2 separate regions of the Homo sapiens genome follow, and region 1 is linked to region 2. Evidence: promoter capture Hi-C in 16 types of primary human blood cells and fetal thymus (Javierre and others, 2016). All regions are on one chromosome and are shown on one strand. The core of a region is centred on a gene start or on the middle of the fragment in contact, and the rest is flanking DNA. Distances in the headings are between cores, read along the strand shown.

What was found. Contacts are between HindIII fragments. The CHiCAGO score rates a contact against its expected background, and 5 or more counts as called.
Region 1: a contact is called between the fragment with the promoter of SUCLA2 here and the fragment with the promoter of LRCH1 in region 2, in 1 of 17 cell types (fetal thymus). The highest score is 5.3, in fetal thymus.

Annotation. Positions count from the first base shown.
Region 1 is chr13:47,999,049-48,004,210 of GRCh38, forward strand. It overlaps SUCLA2 (succinate-CoA ligase ADP-forming subunit beta), which reads right to left and starts at 2,225. Exons shown (of 11, transcript NM_003850.3): 1 at 2,132-2,225. The coding sequence starts at 2,221. SUCLA2-AS1 (SUCLA2 antisense RNA 1) reads left to right here and starts at 2,357. Exons shown (of 2, transcript NR_189308.1): 1 at 2,357-2,774; 2 at 3,387-3,643. RefSeq lists enhancers at 1,860-1,909, 1,930-1,979, 2,000-2,189, 2,566-3,765, 4,437-5,034 and a silencer at 2,310-2,419. The HindIII fragment of the contact is 2,000 bases long and covers 397-2,396 here.
Region 2 is chr13:46,551,052-46,556,043 of GRCh38, forward strand. LRCH1 (leucine rich repeats and calponin homology domain containing 1) reads left to right here and starts at 2,119. Exons shown (of 20, transcript NM_001164211.2): 1 at 2,119-2,652. The coding sequence starts at 2,346. RefSeq lists silencers at 2,063-2,252, 2,313-2,372 and enhancers at 2,576-3,276, 2,933-3,252. The HindIII fragment of the contact is 3,547 bases long and covers 964-4,510 here.

The DNA of each region.
Region 1 (5,162 bases), core at 975-3,474, 1.4 Mb after region 2:
AGTTCACAGGCATGTAAATAAACAACTGCAACACATATAAGAGCACTAGGTCACTAGCACATAAGTCACTAGGTGGCACCTAATTGGTTAGTTGGTCAGAGAAAATGTCACAAGGTCTCATCCCAGTTTAAATTTTTAAAAAATCTAATGTCTATAAAGAACACTTTGGGGACAACTAGAAAAATCTGAATCTAAACTATATATATTCATGTTACAGCAATGTTGAATTCCTAAGTATGATCACTGCGGTTATTTGGAAGAATGTCCTTATTCTTAAAGACATATGCTGAAATATCTATTTTCAACGAAGGTACACTAGGCTAAAGATACCAAGAAATTGGAGGAGGGTCAGAGAACTTAAACAAATGTTTAAAACAGGCCGGGTGCGGTGGCTCAAGCTTGTAATCCCAGCACTTTAGGAGGCCGAGGCGGGAGGATCACGAGGTCAGGAGATCGAGACCGTCCTGGCTAACACGGTGAAACCCCGTCTTTACTAAAAATACAAAAAATTAGCCGGACGTGGTGGCAGGCGCCTGCAGTCCCAGCTACTAGGGAGGCTGAGGCAGGAGAATGGCATGAACCCGGGAGGCGGAGCTTGCAGTGAGCCAAGATCGCGCCACTGCACTCCAGCCTGGGCGACAGAGCAAGACTCCGTCTCAAGGAAAAAAAAAAAAAAATGTGGAAAACAAATTGCTAAATTAAATGTGTGACCTTGAACGAGTTTCTTAAGACTCCGTACTTCTATGTCCTCATCTACAAAAGCAAAGGGTTGGACTAAGGTCCTTCCAAACTCTAGAGCTGCATTTCTTAATACCAGGGTAGAAGACAGCAACTGTTATAAAGAAAATAATATTGGAAATTTCCATAAGGAGAAATGAAGGCTTTTAAATGAACTTCCAAAAAGATAAAGATTTTGACTAGAATGAAAACGTATTTGTCACTAAATTCCCCATTTTCTAAAAACTAAATAGCACTCTTCTAAGATTCATAAGAAGGAAGTTCAAGGTCAAAAAGTCACTTCTATCGGGAAGCAAACTCACAGAACTCACTACCCCTAGGCTGAAAGTATGAACAACTTCAATAAAAATGAAAAAAAAAAAAAAAGGTAGGGGCGGGAGGGCCCTAAATCAATTCATACTATGACATGTATGAAGAGTTACTTCAGAAAAAAACCCAAAACTCTGGAATTGACTTAGGACACCAATAATGCCCTTCCACAGTTTTTTGTTGTCAAAGTTGGAAGGAAGATGTTTGTTTTCGAAGTTGTGGAGCCAACTCAAGTACACGGCTTTAGAACCAGACACCTCTGGGATTAAATCTCAGCTTTGATCTTACCTCCTATATGACCTAGTCCAAATTACTTGTTCTCTTAACCATAATATGTTCAACAATGATGCAGGTGTTGAATGACTTCCTCACAGTTGCTGAAAAACCTGAGAAACTACACGTAAAGCGCTTAGCACATTACCTGGCACACATCAAATATTCAAAACAAGGCCAGTAACTATTATGCTATAGCCTATCCAGAAATAAGGCTATACAAAAGATTATTTTCTTACCTCTCCAACTGGTTAGGTAGAAAACATAATCTTATTACTGCTATTAACAAGTAGAACAGTATACAACTACTTGGAGGAGAGGGGAAACTTCCCTACCTTGCCCCACAAAAGGCAAGTCAGTAAGCACCGCTGGTCCTCTGACATTCCCACCTATGACAGCTCCCAAGAAACACAAAAGTACTTTTGAAGGGCATTCCCCCCTGCCCAAAAAGGGGCGGCGCAAGTCTCAGCCCACCGTGCCAGACGCCGGAATGGCAGCAGAAAATGTCCTGACCCCCTCACCTCCACTCAGAGCCCACCTGCTCCCGCCCATCTCTTAGAAACTGCAGGAGCAGCCACGGCCGGGCCGCCGGGGATCCTCGCGGACTAAGGGCTGGGTCAGAGCCGCGCAAACATGGGCTCGCTCGTAGTCCTGGCGAGCAGCACTCCCAGGCAAGTCGCCCGAGGGCCTTGCAGGGCACCCAGAAAATGTCACTGCCGGCGAAGTGACCCCGAGCCGGGCCACGGGACCCCTCACACCTCACCCTTTCTCCTGCCGACCCTCGAGACGACAGCGGACTGGAAGGCATTACCTGAGCAGCAGCCCGCTGGGCCGTCCGAGGCCGGTGGTTCCGAAGGGTGGCCACGGCCACTAGCCTGCCGTAGAACATGGAGGCCGCCATTTCTGAGTCGGACCCCGTCCCCTCGGCGCCGCGCGCAGGCGCACAGGCGACAGGCGGCCCAAGGCGCAGCCTCTCTGCAGCGCTCACCTACGCCCCGCCTCGCGCCACCCGTTGGGGGCGGGGCCTCGGGTTAACACTGCAGCCGCTAGACCAGCTCCCTGGCGGGCGCGGAGCAAGCTTTGACCTTTGGAACTGGGCACCGCAGCCCCAATATCTGCCCTGCGGTCAGAGCAACCTGAACACTTCCTAGTGAATTGCAATGTAAAGGTGACCAGCGCCGCCACTTGGGTGATCTTAACTTCTCTCAGCCTCAGTTGCCTCATCTGTAAAATGTGTTTCATTCAAGAAATGATTACCCAGTGTCTACTTCGTGCTAAACAGCCTTGAGCCCTTGGCCTACAGCAATGAATAAAACCATTTGTGATGCTCAAAGAGAAGATGGTCGGTGTAACGCGCTTGTGATGCTCAAAGAGAAGATGGTCGGTGTCATGCGCTTCTGATGCTCAAAGAGATCGGTGTCACGCGCATCCGTGTGAAGACACCGCCAAACAGGGTGTGAGCAATAAGGCTGTTTATTTTAACTGGGTGCAGGCGGGCTGAGTCCGAAAAGAGAGTCAGCAAAGGGAGATAGGGGTGGGGCTGTTTTATAGGATTTGGATGGGTAGCGGAAAATTACAAAGGGGGTTTTTCTCTTACGGGCAGGGGCGGGGGTCACAAGGTGCTCAGTGGGGGAGGTTCTGAGCCAGGAGAAGGAATTTCACAAGGTTAATCACTCAGTTAAGGTGGGGCAGGAACAAATCACAATGGTGGAATGTCATCAGTTAAGGCAGGAACCGGCCAATTTCCCTTCTTTTGTGATTCTTCACTTGCTTCAGGCCATCTGGATGTACACGTGCAGGCTTGGGCTCAGAGGCCTGACAGTCGGCCACTAGTTACCAAAGCTGGTGGCAGGCTGGAGTCTCCAGGGAAGCTATTGATTGATTGATTGACTGATTGACAGGGTCTTGGTCTGTCACCCAGGCTGGAGTGCAGTGACGCGATCACAGCTCACTGCAGCCTCAACCTCCCATGCTCAAGGGATCCTCCCACCTCAGCCTCTGGAGTAGTTTGGGACCACAGATGTGTGTCACCAGGCTTGGTTGATTTTTTTATTTTATTTTTTTAGGGACAGAATCTCTCTATGTTGCCCAGGCTGGTCTCCAACTCGTGGGTTCAAGCGATCCTCCTGCCTCAGTCTCCCAAAGTGCTGGGATGACAGGTGTGGGCAACCACACCCAGCCAAGGATCTGGTTTTTGAAAAGATAAATAAATTTAACAAACCTCCAGCAAGACTGCAAAGAAAAAAGAAAAAGAGAAGACACAAATTACCAATGTGAGGAACATACCAGGGAATATAATTACAGAACCTTCAGACACCAAAAAGGAATGCCATAAATAACACCACATAACATAAATTTGACAACTTTGACAAGATGAGCGAATTCTTCAGAAGGCACAAATTACTACAAATAACCTAATATGAAAAGGTAATTTAAATAGTCCTCTAACTAGAGAAAATTGTAATTGTAATTTTTAAACTAAAAAAAAAAAAAACCTGAGATCTCCAGGCCCAAAAGCTTTCACTGATGAATTCTATAAAATGTTTACACAAGAATTAACACCAATTCCATACAGCCTCTTCCAGAAGATAGAAGAGGAAGGAACAGTTGCCAATGTACTGTATGAAGTTAGAATCACCCCACTACCAAAGCCAGCAAAAGACCGTACAAAAAGAAAAAAATACCAACACTTCTCATGAATATTGATGGAAAAATCCATAGCAAAATATTAGCAAATATAATTCAGAAATATATAAAAAGAATTGTACAATATGACCAAGTGGGATATATTCCAGAGATGTAAGTTTGTTTTAATATTTGAAAATATGTGTAATGCACTATATTAAGTTAGAAAAATCACATGATAATTTCGATCAAAACAAAAAAAGTAGCTGGGCACAATGGTTCATGCCTGTAATCCAAACACTTTGGGAGGCCGAGGTGGGAGGATTGCTTGAACCCAGGAGTTTGAGACCAAACTGGTTGGGCCACATAGCAAGACTTCATTTCTATAAATAATTTTAAAATTAGCCAGTCATGGTGGTGTACACCTGTGGTCCCAGCTACTCCAGAGACTGAGATGGGGGGGAAATCACTTGAGCCCAGGAGGTCCAGGCTGCAGTGAACCGTGATCGTGCCCCTGCACTCCAGCCTGAGTGACATAATGAGACCCCCATTACAAAAAAAAAAAAAAAACAGGCCAGGCATGGTAGCTCACGCCTGTAATCCCAGCACTTTGCGAGGCCGAGGCAGACAGATCATCTGAGGTCAGAAGTTTGAGACTAGCCTGACCAACACAGAGAAACCCCGTCTCTACTAAAAATACACAATTAGCTGGGTGTGGTGGCATGTGCCTGTAATTCCAGCTATTCAGGAGGCTGAGGCAGGAGAATCATTTGAACCAGGGAGGCAGAGGTTGCAGTGAGCCGAGATCGTGCCATTGCACTCCAGCCTGGGCAACAGGAGTGAAACTCCATCTCAAAAAAAAAAAAAACAAAAAAAGCATCTTACAAATTCCAACATTCATTCATGATTAAAAACTCAGATAAACAGGAATAGAGGGGAACTTCCTCATCTTGATAAACCGGATTACAAAAAACTTACGGCTAATATACTTAATGGTGAGAGAAGACTGAATGCTCTTCTCATAAGACTGGGAGCAAGGCAAGGGTGTTCGCTCTCACCACTTTTATTCAATATAGTGCTGGGAGTTCTTGTCAGTGCAATAGACAAGAAAAGCAATTACAAACATATGGAGTGAAAAGAAAGAAAGAAAACTCTCACTATTTACAGATAACATAATTGTTGCTATAGTTTGGATATCTGACCATCCAAACCTCATG
Region 2 (4,992 bases), core at 869-3,368:
ACTAATATTAATTGTGCACTCATTATATACAAAGTACTCCCCTCGATTCTGAGGCATGGGGAGAGAGTTGCAAAGATGAATAGGTCCCTATTTCATGGAATTTACAGTTTAGTAATCTGTAGATGGGTAAACAAACCACAATGAGTAGGTCAATCTAACAGAGGGACTGATCATTTGTTAAAAAGCAAATCGTGGGCTCATATGCAATCCATTATTTTCTTTAAAGAAGAATTAGTGGTCTTTTAAAAAAATATGTATGCTTCCTATGATGCATCACAACGACTCTTAGTCTGAACTAAATTTGCAGTCAGCCAGAAGATGTCCCAAATCATGTCCTGACTGCTGATCACACAGACTACCACCTGGTTTCAGCTGAAGATTCTTTTAATTGGATTTTTTTCTGTGTTTCTGTTTTTCACTGGATTTTGTTTTTCTCTGTTCCTCTCCCTGGAGGAAAGTGGAAATTTGGTTACTTTTTTGTGATGGAAGTATACTTTCATTTATTATTATTGTCGTTATTATTATGAATTTTGAAGCCGGACTTTTAAAAGCCTGGAAGGCTGCGGCGAATGGCATGTGAGAGGGGAGGTTTGCGGGAGGATACCAGCAGGTGGCGCGTGTCTCCTCCGGGCAGATTAGAATGCTTTGCTCAGGGCCAAGAATCCCGCAGGAATTAAGGGCAACTATCTGTGCAGTCAATTCAAGTGACACAGATCATGCCATACTTAAGTGCCGAGTCCATGAAGTCACCAGTTCCAGCCTGTTGTCTAGGCCATCAAACTTATGTATTACCACTTAAAAAACCAGCTCCCCTACTCCAAGGGTTGCATTACTTTCGTGCTTGACACCCCGACAACCCCGCACCCACCCCCCGACTCATTTTCCCCAAGCCAAGTCGCTCATAGGGGACAATCAAGCCTTAAGAATAGAGCAAAAATAAAGGCCCTGGAAAGTTGGACATGAAGCTTTAACTTCAGGAAAGGAATGGTATTCTATTAATCGTCCAGCTGGTCTGCCCTTAGGGTGTCAGATGTTCTCTGTCGCCCCTGGTGTGCCAGCATTGGCCTGGGTGCCACTGGGTGGCTGATGGCAGAATGTGAATTCACTTGCAAGCGGACATGTTCGTTTCCATGCCCCAAAGCGGGAAGAAGAAGGGCACAAGGAGACTTCGATGGTTCTTTCAGCTCAGACTCGAGCTGTGACTGATTTGCTGTTTGGGGTCACTGGCTTTCTAGCCTCTCCTGGCACCACCCAATTTCGGGGAGCAGCCAGCTCATCTTTCTCCTACGACAATGTCTTCTGTCCCCCATAAACACTGCCCTCATTTTGAGTTTTTCTTTCCTATGTCTGTAGCTTTCTTCTGCCGCTCAGCAAACACTCTGTCCCACTCGTATTCGTCCCTTGGCGCTGGCGTCTGGCCCAGGGGTACACTGTGAAGGAGGGCAACCCTAGATTCTGAGGGCCCTAGCTCGAATCTAGCGCCCCTCTAACTGCAGGGGTGACCTTAGATACATTTATTAACTTCCTCTGTAGACTCAGGGGAACAACTTTGGCACTCCTGGGGTCCCTGGATTAATGAGGTAACTTACGTAGACTCCCTAAACAAGCGTCTGGTTCATTGTAAGCGCCCAAATGCCAGGGGGCATCTGCAGGGATGACCCCATAGTGAATGAAAACTGCCTCTTGGGGATCTCTGGGTTAAACGGCCAGAATAAATCGCAGAATTGAGAGAACCCTCTCCTGCCCCAAACCTCACTGTACTGTAAATCCCATTCATTGCCTCCCGCCGTTTTATCCGTGTTCTCAGACCACCCCCCTATCCCCGCAACCTCCAGTCCCCTAAAGCCTCCTGGGCGGCAAAAGGACGCCCAGAGAGAGGTTCGGCGCCTCAGTTGCCCCGGAGCAGACGTCCAGCCCCGCCGTGTACCCGATTGCGGGGCGGATCGCGGCAAGGCGGCGGCGGCCGGCAGAATAGGCGCGGAGGAAGGCTCAGGCGGGGCAGACTGCGTGGGGGAAGGAGGAGGAGAGAGCAGACGGCGGAGGAGGGCAGAGCAGCCGGGGGGAGGGCGCAGGGGCGGGAGGAGACACATGCGCGCTGCCGCCGCCGCCGCCGCCGCCGCAGTCCTTAGCTTCCCGGGGACAGGAAACCTTCAAGACCGAGCTGCCACGGCCGCCTCCCCGCCCGCCCCCCATTCTACGCGCCTGCCCACACCCTCCTCCCCTCCTTCCAGCGCCTTTCGGTGGAGCACTGCGGCACTCAGCCCGAGCTGCCGTTTTCCCCTCGCGGGGAACGCTGTGACCCCCCCGCAGGAGCGGCGGGGCGGGGTGGGGGGGCCCGGGAGAAGATGGCGACGCCGGGAAGCGAACCCCAACCTTTCGTCCCGGCCCTTTCGGTAGCTACTCTGCACCCACTTCATCATCCCCACCACCACCACCACCACCATCAGCACCACGGAGGAACCGGCGCCCCCGGCGGGGCGGGTGGTGGCGGCGGTGGCAGCGGGGGCTTCAACCTGCCCTTGAACCGGGGTCTGGAGCGCGCGCTTGAGGAGGCGGCCAACTCCGGGGGGCTGAACCTGAGCGCCAGGAAATTGAAGGAATTTCCCCGTACCGCAGCCCCCGGGCACGACCTCTCGGACACGGTGCAGGCAGGTGAGTGAGGGCCGAGGGGCGGGCAGGGGTGTGGGTGCTGTCTGGGTGTCTGTCGTGCGTTCCCTAACGCGGTGGACAGTCGGAGATCTTGTCTTGCTGGGGGAGGGAGGGTCCATCGGCCCGTTGTCTCCCGAAGAAGGGACTCGCGTGGGCGCGGAAGAAGCGGGCCCTGGAGAGGGCACGGGGGCCCTGCCTGGTCCGGCGATGCAGTGCCAGGAGGGCAGGGGTGCGCCGGGCCTCTGCGCCTGAGAGCGAGGGGTCTCCGGCTCTCCACCCTGTGGCTGCCGCGCCAGGGAAGTAACCGCGGGGCTGGGACTTGCAGGCGCGCCGCGTGCGCGCAGTGTAAGTGGGAGGTTTCAGGCGGCTGTGTCGGCTTCCTGGGCCCCGCGCAGGGCTGGGAACTCCAGCGCGGACAGCGGCGTCGGCGCCTCCAACCAGTTCAAGCCGTCTTTGCATCGAGGCGTAGCCCATCCTGGTGGGGAAACCCAGACAAAGGTGGCACGCCCTCGGCCGAGCCAGGGGCATCGGCGCAGTGCCGCGAGCCCCCTCGGCGACATCGCCGAGCGATCGGGCAACTCGGTGCCGCCTGTGAGGTGCCCAAGTTTCCTCTCCCTGCGCTTGTGCGGGAAAAGAGCCGCCGGGCTTGTAGTGAATCCCAGTCGGCTGCCGCTTCGGAAGCGATCGGCCCTCTTCCTTCCGTGCCTTTTGCTCACCGCCCACACAGTTTGGGTCCTACCACCGAGGCTACCTGGTTCTCAGTTACCCAACCGTTGCGGGGGCCCCAGGAAAGGACGGCGTGGCATATTAAAGGCAAAGTAATTAACGTGAGCCTGTTTTCCTGTGTGAGCCCGGCAAGTTGTAACTCGCGCCAATAAGCAGCATAACTTTTTCAAGTTACGTCATGTGTTACATACTTCTAAAACGTCTGCTTTCTCTTTGGTAGTTGGAGTTCCAGGAGCGGGATCTATAAACAGGAAGGAGGGTGGTGGAATAGGATTGGGGCCTTAGGGTCTATACAGAACTGACTTGGTTTCCGGCCATCCGGTTCCGCTCCCTGGGGGAGGGTTTGTGTCATAGCAAGCGCCCAACATTTCCCAGGGCAGTGGGTGCTCCGTTTTGGAGCCGCTGCCCAGACCTCTTGGCTGTCATCGCCTCATGGCCCAGGGTCAGACCCCCTGGGTCTTGGATGGGTTGACTCTCATCACAGGAGCACCCAGTTTAATCTTGTAGTGGGCAAGGGAGCAGGCAGTGGGTTTTTGGAGGCTAGGTTTCCAGTGTCTTTTCCCCCTTTTAATTCAATAAACATTTATCTAGAGCCTTAATGAATATTTAGATACAGTTCTGAGTTCACTGGAGGCAAAGATGGCTCTCCAGGGTCATTAAACTTTGTAATTTGGATTTAGGGATAGTCAGGAATCGGCAAAAAAGAGGGAATTTCCAAAGTTGAGCTGTCAACAGCTGGGGAGTGTCTTTCAATAAGACCTCTTAGTTACATCTTCTCAAGTGGAACTTATTCCAAGAATTGCCTGAATCACTGACTTAAAAAACTACATTAAATTTTACTTCCCTTCTGCTATAGAGTGTACCGTGAGCTAGCTATGCTATGGTTGGCTATATCTGCAGAAAATAGAGCTGGCATGACTAATAATAATAGGTTTGTGTAGTTCAGTAAGGGGGCTTCATAGTTGTTCTACTTCAGTTATGCTAAGGATTATTTACAAAGTTAGGTGAACTTGATGTGTCTGCTGTGTTGGCATTTCTTTGAGAAGACCAGTGCTTTTAGGGATCACATCTTTTAGCTAAGACCTCGCCATGTGAAGTGGATGCTGAAAGTGTTCTTGTTGGCTTGTTTATGGCAAGCTTAAGTTGTGAGTTTTGCAGGTTTTTATTTATGAGCTCACTTGCACATGTTTTATGCTCAGGAAAATCTAACTGGTTAAAATTCAGAGGCTTTATGTTAATTCCTCATCCAAAAATACAGTATTATTTGGGGGAAGAGGAGTGGAGGGATATTCATGTTTGTAGAAACTTAAGTCAACCCCATCAGAAAAGTATTCATTGCAGCTAGTTATTTTACATGAAATTAGAATACCCAAATGTATTAAATATTTGCTTCTGCAAAACGTCTTTGCCTCAGGTCAAAAGCTAGGTGTAAACCACATGTACTCTTTGTTCTAAAGATAAATTTAATTGAGCACAGTTTCTTATTTGAGAGACCAGAAAGCAAAATAAAGAGTTAAAGTTACCTCCGGTGTACACAGTGTTGACACAGCGTACATGTAAGAGTTCTAGTACAGTTGAAAGTTTGAGTAGTAACATTTATAATAAAGATAGTGGTTT